Regions from separate parts of the Homo sapiens genome. Here region 2 is linked to region 1. The links are contacts of gene promoters, found by promoter capture Hi-C in human tissues and cell types (Jung and others, 2019). All regions are on one chromosome and are shown on one strand. The core of a region is centred on a gene start or on the middle of the fragment in contact, and the rest is flanking DNA. Distances in the headings are between cores, read along the strand shown. Region 1 holds the start of HYPK (huntingtin interacting protein K). Region 2 overlaps FRMD5 (FERM domain containing 5).

Region 1 (4,817 bases), core at 2,318-4,817:
TGTAATTGCCATTTGAGTGTCCTTACAGCAGACTCAGGGGCCGTTGCAGGGTTTTTTTTTTGTTTGTTTGTTTGTTTTAAAGAGACGGCTCTGTTGCCCAGGCTAGAGTGCCTCAGCCTCCCGAGTAGCTGGGACTACAGGCGCCTGCCACCATGCCTGGCTAATTTTTGTATTTTTAGTAGAGACGGGGTTTCACCATGTTAGCCAGGATGGTCTTGATCTTCACTTCGCGATCCGCCCGCCTCAGCCTCCCAAAGTGCTGAGATTACAGGCGTTGAGCCACTGTGCCTAGCTGGGGCCGTCACAGTTTTATAGTTGAGGAAACTAGTTCAACATGTGTGAGTTGGTCCAAGCTGATTTTTTTTTTTTTTTTTTTTGAGATGGAGTTTCACTCTTGTTGCCCAGTCTGGAGTGCAGTGGCGCGATCTCTGCTCACTGCAACCTCCTGGGTTCAAGAGATTCTCCTGCCTCAGCCTCCCTAGTAGCTGGAATTACAGGCGTCCACCACCACACCCAGCTAATTTTTTTTTGTACTTTTAGTAGAGATGGGGTTTCACCATTTTGGCCAGGCTCGTCTCAAACTCCTGATCCCAGGTGATCCACCTGCCTCGGCCTCCCAGAGTGCTGGGATTATAGGCATGCGCCACCACGCCCGGCCCTGATTAACCTTTAAAGTAAAATTACCTTCTCTCTAGGATAGGAAATGGCATGTAGAATGTATTATGGCTTAGAATTTGAATACCAATCAAAACCTTTCATAGGTTTTTTTCGTTTTGAGACAGTCTTGCTCTGTCGCCCAGGCTGGAGTGCAGTAGCACAATCTCAGCTCACTGCAGCCTCAACCTCCCAGGCTCAAGCAAATCCATCTCAGCCTCCAGAGTATCTGGGACCACAGACAGGCACATGCCACCATGCCTGGCTTTTTTTTTTTTTAATTTTAGTAGAGACAAGGTCATGCTATGTTGCCCAGGCTGGTCTGGAAATCCTGACCTGACACAGTCCTCCCAGCCCAGCCTCCCCAAAGTGCTGGGGTTACAGGCATGAGTCACCACACCTGGCCCAACCTTTGATATCTTCTAGTCTTACCATGTTCTAACCCTCAGGTACCTAAATTCTTTTTTTGGTGGTGGGGGGAGCGCGGTAGAGACGAAATCTCACTGTGTTGCCCAAGCTGGTCTCAAACTGCTGGGCTCAAGTGATCGTCTTGCCTCAGCTTCCCAAGGTGTTGGGATTACAGGCATGAGCCACCATGCCTGGCCCCTAAATTCTTTTTTGTTGTTTTGTTTTTGAGACAGTCTCGCTCTGTCACCCAGGCTGGAGTACAGTGGCACAATCTCAGCTCACTGCAACTTCCGCCTCCCTGGTTCAAGCAATTCTTCTGCTTCAGCCTCCTGAGTAGCTGGGACTACAGGCATGCACCACCACGCCTGGCTAATTTTATTTTTTTTGTATTTTTAGTAGAGACAGGGTTTCACCATGTTGGCCAGGCTTGTCTTCAACTCCTGACCTCATGATCCGACTGCCTCAGCCTCCCAAAGTGCTGGGATTACAGGTGTGAGCCACTGTGCCCGGGCTTTTTTTTTTTTTTTTTTTTTTGAGATGGAGTTTCACTCTTTCCCCCAGGCTGGAGTACAGTAGTACAGTAGTGTGATCTCAGCTCACTGCAACCTCTGCTTTCCAATTTCAAGCGATTCCTGCCTCAGCCTCCAGAATAGCTGGGATTATAGGCGCCCACCACCATGCCCAGCTAATTTTTCTATTTTCAGTGGAGACGGGGTTTCACATGTTGGCCAGGCTGGTCTTGAATTCCTGACCTCGTGATCTACCTGCCTCGACCTCCCAAAGTGCTGGGATTAGAGGTGTGAGCCACAGCACCCAGCCAAATTATTTTTTTTTAATCACTCAAAATCAAGCATGTTGTAGGTACCAAAATTCTAACTCAAGGTGGCCTATGAACTGGGTTCATAACCTACATCTATCTATATATATAGTGGCTCCTAGGCAGGTAGCTGGCCTTTTAGATATTCATAAGCTGTCTTGGAGACACATGCCATTTGAGTACAGTAACTCTGCTGAGACTCCAGATGTACCTTGAATACTGTTGAGAGCTAGTCAGATGAATGAGACTGGCCTGCCACCTAGCATCTGCACATGAGGTATTCTTCTACACTGATTTTTCATACAGGTGTGCTAGATTTTAATGGGTCACTTAAATTCAGTTAGTCTCCAACATATAAATTCTCCACAACATAGGATATAGTATACACTCTACTTGACCCAAGATGATAAAACTGAAAAAGACAAAAAAAAATTTTATTGCCATAAATTAATCCAGTAGGTATATTTGAGAAAGCACGCATCAGTTGGTTAGGGCAATAAGCGCCTCTACCACGTTGCCCATGTGTTCCCGCAAACTGCGTTCTGCTGCTGCTCGAGATATCTCCATCTCAGTCATCTGCAGAAAAAAATCATGTTACATAGGTTCCCAGGCATTAATGTGCCACCAAATATACTGACTCCGCTTGTTTCAGGAAACAACCCAAATTAAGCAGAATAGCCTCCCCTCCGCATACACTAGTTAGGCACTACCACTCACTATTAGCTCCAGATCTTCCTTCTTGATAGTGACTTTTGCCAGTTCTTTCTCCCTGCAAAAATATTTAAATATATTAGTCCTCATTCTCAACCAACACCATAAACTCCCAGGAAGGGTCATTCCCAGAAGTGCCCTGTAAATAAATCTTGATAAACCCTTGATTGAAAATAAAAACTCCCACTAATACTCCTTTCCCCTGGAGTCTTGGCAGCAGGTGTTGCCAGGAGGCCTTCTGCTAACAAGAGTAAAGTTGTGGCGCCTAGATCTGCAGGAATTGGTGATAAATTTGAAGAACGGTATAAAGGCTTAATAATGGTTTTTATTTTTGTCTGGGGACCGGGGAGGGAAGAACTGTTAAAGTTGGCTGCCCCTGAAGACTTACCGCTCCTGTTTGGCTTTCTGCTCCCGGGACCTTCTGTCTCCAATCACAGACATGGCCTATGGGAAAGGCAGGTCTAGTTACTGCACCGCTACCCACAATTCCCAATAATCTAAAAGGCCAACAAAACAAGCGGTTCATGCATGGATTCACGATGACAAGTGTTACCAGGTAGCAAGGACTATGTTTAATTCCATTCTATGCACCTGAGGTCCCCTTAAGCCCACTATCAAGCTCCTTTAGGCAAGCGGCGCGCTCCGGTGACCGCTGTTTCCCTCGGCTCTACCCTATTGCCTCCTCCTGCCAACGGGATCAGAACCCCGTCTTGGAGCGCTGGCTTCCAGCTACAGCCTCAGAGCCCCCCTCTGCTCTCAGCCCGCCCCGACATGCTCTTGGCCAACCTTACCGTCTCCAGATTGGAACTCTGGATCTCCTTCTCCTCTGCATAGTCGGTGACCCGCTCCAAGTCCGCCGCACCGCTGTCATGTTTCCGTGGCTTCTCCGGAGGCCGCTCTGGTCCACTGGTCTCAGTCTCCAACTCCAGCTCCACATCCCCCTCGGTCGCCATATCTATTTCACCACGCCGCCGCATAAGCCCCACCTCACGCCGACTTCCGGCAACTGACACAGCTTCCGCCCGGGGAGGAGGCGGGGCTGGCCCTGGGCCACACCTTCTTTCTGCTCCAGTTCTAGAAGCTTCAGGGAGGAAGGCGGTTCGTCTCTCAGACTTCCTTTCGGGTTTGTACAGTGTTTTGTGCGAGGCCTTCTCTCAGACCTAACCCGACACCGCTCCAGCCCACCCCACCGATATCCTTAACCACCTCATAAACTAGGAATAGTCCCCTCAACACATAAACACGCACCCACCCACCTCAGGGAACTCCGTTCAACCTGAATGACGTCTAATCCTAAACCAATAAAGAATGCTAATCCACAGGGGGCCAGATAGACAAACTGCCCCCTAATCTGGAGAGAACAGCCTGAGTGGCCGCAGTGTTGAGGCCCTAAGGACAAAGCTCCTTCACAGGGCATTTGCATTTACCGCAACCTGGAGGTCAGTGTTCTCTTCCGGACGTCTCCATTCTGCCCGGGACCGGGTGCTCAGCCCCAACACAGTGGCAGTCCAATGGGCTGAGGACAGAAGCAACTGCTGCTCTCATCTGCCTTCCATCTGGTGGACCTAAGCCTAATCCCTGGGACAAGGATGGTGGGTGCCAAGGCCGGCCCCAGCCCCGGCACCTCCCTGGGCCTGGCACAGCAGCACAGCGGAGGCAGCAGTGTCCTAGTGAAAAGTCCCTTCTGTCAGGTGAGAGGGTGCGAAGGGGAGAGTGGCCGAAGCTGGGGAGGAAGACGTGCAGAAGCCAATAAAAACGACAGGCCTCTTTTCTCCTCTAATGTCGTTCTGGTTCGTTGCCCCAGGTATAATCTGTAAATCTCTCCCGCCATGTTTCCAGCCCCAGGTGTTTAGGTCGAGAGAAAGGTCAGATATCTCAAGCCTGCTTATAATGAAAGCCCTACTAAGTTGTCAGTGGGCGGCAATCCCAAATGGCTGGAATCAGCTTGAAACAGAACCTGAGTAAAAGGAAGAAAGGGGAAGGGGAAATTTTGGAATTCAACCTCCTGGGTTAACCTCACACATACATTAACGTATGCCTTTCCTCAGCAAGTCTCCACCTCGCTGCCTTGCATCTGCTCTACTCCCAGGTGTGCTGCTGTGGGCCTGCTCCTTGTGCCAGCTGCTGCCACTCTAGGTGGCCCTCTCTCACCGCATCCACTTGCAGCCGCCTGTTCTACATCCTCCTCCATGTGGGGGCCTCAGCAATCTGCTGCCTCCTGCTGTCA
Region 2 (4,817 bases), core at 1,578-4,077, 330 kb before region 1:
TTCCACAGTGGCTGTATCATTTTACATTCCTACCGTTTATAGGGGTTCCATTTTCTCCATATCCTCACCAACACTTGTTATTTTTTGTTTTTTTGATAATAGACATCTTAGTGGGTGTGAGGTAGTATTTCATTGTATTTTTTATTTGCATTTTCCTAATGATTAGTAATGTTGAGCATATTTTCATGTACTTATTGGCTATTTGTAGATCTTCTTTGGAGAAATGTCTAAAGAATTACTTTTTTGATACTCATTTGAATGAAAGTGGATAGCACTAACCTTGGCAGCACAGTAAGATTTGGAGATTTTATAAATGCAATTGAAGGATTAGAAACTGTTAGGCTAGATAGCCTTTGAGATAAAGTTTGGATAACTATAAGGCTAAATCCTGGCTTGGATTCATCCTTTGGTCAGTAGAGGTCATCTGTGTCAAAGAAAACAAATTATTTATTTATTTACTTATTTTTTGCTACTGCTATTACTGTGAAATTACTAGTATATAAATAATAATTTCTTTTAATGTAAACACCAACTAGTTTATGCTAAGCTGGCTTCTGCTTGCCAGAGTCAAGGTTGTAAGTAAATCTGTAAATCTATGCATTTTGTGCTTTGAAGTTCTAATGAATGAAAGTTCCACAAGAGATGCTATGCTTTCTCCCTCTTACTTTTTTCCATTTGTTCCATACAACTGTAAACAGGTGCTGCCCTGTAATTTGTAACTATTCAAGTTTGGAAGAAATATGTACCTTCTGAAGTGCTAAGCATACAAATTCTTAAACAGGTTTTATAGTTCTAGTAGATAATAACATATTATGGAAAGACTTGCTCCAGAGTCATTTTTTAGAACTTTGAAGAAGGTTCACTTTGCCTGGACTGCAATAGATTTATCCTTTTTCTTATTAGTTATTCAGGGTCACCTAAAACTAAGCTTTACTAGTGAGCCAGGTGTCTCACTTGGAAGTTCCCTGGAATAGTAGAACTGAAGTGTAATCTTTGGAAAAAGAGTTGGAAAGGAATGCCATCAGGGTCCTGGGGAAGGAATCTAATAGACTTTGCCACCGTGGGGAAAAAGGCCATGAAGGCGAGGCAGAGCTGTCCCAGACTAGTGGGCGAATCCTCTTGCCTCCAAGGATTGGCGGGGATGTCAGTCTCTCATGGTCCTCACCTTGCACAGGGTAATAGATGTGATAATGGTGACGAGTGTTAGCAACCTGCTGAAGCATGATGGGTTTAGAGGGGAGAGGGTGGTTATAGTATTAGTGCAGCCCACCTGGAGGGAGCGCCATTGACCACAGGAATCACCAAGCAAGGTGCAAACCATCCCAGCATCTTTTAAGAGAAGGAAGAGGACACTGAGTTAGGGAGAGTTGACATTGTAAATGTGGACATTGAGGTCCTTGGTTGGCCTTCCCCAAGCTGATGTTCTCTGGGAAACAGTGGTTATAAAAGTTTGCTGACCCATGTGCTTTGCCTGGGGCTCATTTGTTCCTTGCCAGAAGTCAATCATGGGAAGGGTCCTAGTTACTAACCTGAGGAACTGCTGCAAGTGAAAGCATCTAGAATGACTTTTCTGTTGGAAGAAACAAAATGACTGTGAAAATTGGAGAGGAAAAGGCTCTTCCTTCTGTTTTGGGCTCTAGTTAGGTCATTTTTGTGATGTGGACGGCTGTTAGAAGCTTCACTCTAAAAGCCTATCCTACAGTATCTCTTGATGCCCTTGGAAATGACTTTAAGCTGTCTTTCCTAGTTTGGAGTTAATGGGATATTGAAGCAGAAACTGAGTTCTAATATCTGGGGACTGCAGAGAACCTCTAAGGATTACTTTAACTTTTTGTTTATTTTAAATTAAAAAAAAAGTGCCTCTGAGATATAGATGACAGGATAAAGACATAATCAGAGGAATTGCCATCACTCCTCACTGGATTCTTCAGAAACAGGACAAAGTTGTTACAGTTCCATAGCCCTGGGATAAAGTCTGTGATTCCTTTGCTTATTACATTTTTGGGACAATGCTTCTTGCAATTCTAGAATCTGACTTATAATCAAAATGGTCAGGTTTTAGGTTTATGAAATGTTTACTAAGTATACAAAAGTTGGGTTTTGGCTTTAGAGACAAAATTATTTTTTACTAGATGGAGTTTCTTGAATTGACTTTAAAAAATAGCATGTAAGCAAGGGATTTTTTTTTTCATTTTAGATTGGGGAATCATAAGAGCTTTCTGTACATGTTTCCAATATAATTGACATTGATCCTTAAGGGCTATTTGGATTAAGGTTAGCCTGTAGTCTCAGTTTTTGTATTATCTCTTTCAAAGTAGGACTTGCCTGAGATTTTATAATGTGGAAATGTTTTATGCCCAGTGCTGTTGACTGTGTAAAGAGCTTCAGACCTCCACTAATGTTGTACTCCTAGCTGCTGTTTGGTTAACACTGCCTACCTTCTCCAAAAGTAACTCATTATATATGCCTTCTCTCCCCACTCATGCTTAGGGACTTCGTACCACATCATTCTGTGTTGTTTTTTTTTCTTTTTCTTTTTTTTAGCTCCTTTAATTTCCCTATTTCTATCCTTGTTCAAATCTTAAAAATTCAGTCTTAATTCCTTCTGATTCCTATCATCTTCAGTTTAAAGGAAGAATGATGTTGAGGGGATGGTAGAAGAGCTCCTGAAAGTAGTCATATTATTTACTGTATGACTATTTTATTTTTGAATAATGGTACCAGTTTGCTTAGGTAAGCACATATCTAGGAATACCCTAACCTACTCAATGATGAATGCCAATATTGAAATCCTAGTGATGTATGCCTACCATATATCTTAATCAGCTTCATAATCCCATTTCTTTCTCAATGATACTACTTTGTGAAACTTAATTTATTTTTATTTATTTATTTTTTTGAGATGGAATTTTGCTCTTGTCACCCAGGCTGGAGTGCAATGGCATGATCTCGACTCACTGCAACCTCTGCCTCCCAGGTTCAAGTGATTCTGCCTCAGTCTCCCCAGCAGCTGGGATTACAGGCCTGCGCCACCACGCCCAGCTAATTTTTGTATTTCTGGTAGAGACAGGGTTTCGCCATGTTGGCCAGGCTGGTCTTGAACTCCTGACCTCATGTGATCCACCCGCCTCGGCCTCCCAAAGTGCTGAGATTACAGGCCTGAGCCCCTGTGCCCAGTGAAACTTAATTTCTTAACTCATGAGTGCTAAATAGTATGGATATAAAAATAGTTGCTCTTTTGGGCATTTTTTGAAGATTGCTTTTTTTCTCAGAAGCTTCATTGAAATGTAACTGCCATGATTCTGTCTGTACGGTGGGGGCGAAATTTTACCTTCCTCTCTCTTGGCATAGCTGCTAAATAAGTTAAATAATTAAAAATGGAAGCATAAGCAAAAGGGAAAATGTTGAAAAGCCAGATTGCTACAGCTGCCTCCTTCACGTTACTAAAAGTTTGTTATCTTAGAATATTATCGACATCTGCTGGGTTATTTATTTATTTATTTTGGAGACAGACTCTCATTTTATTGCCCAGGCTGGAGTGCGGTGGTGAGATCACAACTCCCTGCAGCCTCAACCTCCCAGGCTCAAGCGGCCCTCCCACCTCAGCCTTCCAAGTAGCTGGGACTACAGGTGTGCCCCATGCCCAGCTAATTTTTGTATTTTTTTGTAGAGATGAGGTTTCGCCATGTTGCCCTGGCTGATTTCAAACTCCTGAGCTCAAGTGATCCTCTCGCTTCAGTTTCCCAAAGTGCTGGCATTACGGGTTGTGAGCCATTGCACCCGGCCTGGTTATTTTTATTAATAAATATAATTGAGGGAAAGGAGAGCCAAGAGCAATGAAGTTGAGATTGTACAGTAGTCATGGAAGTGGGGAGTGGTGATGGATAGTCATTGCTTTTCAGTTTCTGAAATGAACACTGAAGACTCCAGATTGAGATCTGGGTATAAGTCTCTTACTACCTTCACAATAAAAAAGCATTTATTAGGCTGGGTGTGGTGGCTTACGCCTGTAATCACAGCACTTTGGGACATCAAGGCGGGCAGATCACTTGAGGTCAGGAGTCTGAGACCAGGCTGGCCAACATGGCGAAACCCTGTCTCCACCAAAAATACAAGAATTAGTCGGTGTGGTGGTGAATGTCTGTAATCTCAGCTGCTTGGGAGGCTGAGGCATGAGAATTGCGTGAACTTCCTTGAGCCTGGGAGGTGGAGGCTGCAGTGAGCCGATATTGCACCACTGCACTCAAGCCTGGGCGACAGAGCGAGACTCCATTTCAAAAGAACGTTTATTAAATGACTATATGAAACATGTTCTGTTCTATAGAATACAGAAAGATTGTTCCTCTCTAGGTGTTTATTATTTAAAGTGACCAATTGCAGAATGAACATTCATTAGGATCAAAGTACTTAAAAAAGTATTTATAGTTCATGAATGTAGCAGTGCCCAGTGATTGGTATGAGGGAAGTACATTAGTTTAATTAGCTTAACGTTCTCTTGACTGGACTATTCCCCTTACTTCTAGTTACTTGGGAAAGTTTTTATGAAGGAGACTAATTTCCAAAGTTATTTAGGCAATGACAGGTTGGAAGATTGGTCAGCTGAGAGTGGGAGGAACATAACGTATGAGAGCCAAAAGGAAGGGTGGAACAATGGGCTGGTAAAGAGAATGAGGACTAGATAAATTCTAATGAGGGAAGAGTCTAGGGCCTATGTGGGAGAGTATGAAGAGTAGAGGGTCCTTGGAGTGTGGCAATAAGAATGTGAAACTCAGATTGGAATTGGCTCCTGGTCAAGAGGATGGTGTGATGTTTCTGCA

Evidence for each region. Contacts are between HindIII fragments. The study calls those that stand out against the background at their distance.
Region 2: a contact is called between a fragment that was not itself captured here and the fragment with the promoter of HYPK in region 1, in 2 of the 25 tissues and cell types used here (dorsolateral prefrontal cortex and hippocampus).

What each region holds. Positions count from the first base shown.
Region 1 is chr15:43,799,349-43,804,165 of GRCh38, reverse strand. HYPK (huntingtin interacting protein K) reads right to left here and starts at 3,567. Exons shown (of 4, transcript NM_016400.4): 1 at 3,382-3,567; 2 at 2,979-3,034; 3 at 2,597-2,648; 4 at 1-2,455. The coding sequence starts at 3,543. The coding sequence ends at 2,360. SERINC4 (serine incorporator 4) reads left to right here and starts at 3,946. Exons shown (of 12, transcript NM_001258031.2): 1 at 3,946-4,281; 2 at 4,680-4,817. The coding sequence starts at 4,180. SERF2-C15ORF63 (SERF2-C15orf63 readthrough) reads right to left here. Exons shown (of 6, transcript NR_037673.1): 3 at 3,382-3,671; 4 at 2,979-3,034; 5 at 2,597-2,648; 6 at 1,577-2,455. RefSeq lists enhancers at 3,291-3,540, 3,448-4,148, 4,149-4,817. The HindIII fragment of the contact is 6,811 bases long and covers 3-4,817 here.
Region 2 is chr15:44,126,560-44,131,376 of GRCh38, reverse strand. The region is part of intron 1 of FRMD5 (FERM domain containing 5); the gene reads left to right. Among named protein-coding and RNA genes, the nearest start is that of FRMD5, 66 kb to the left of the region's middle. The HindIII fragment of the contact is 3,050 bases long and covers 1,303-4,352 here.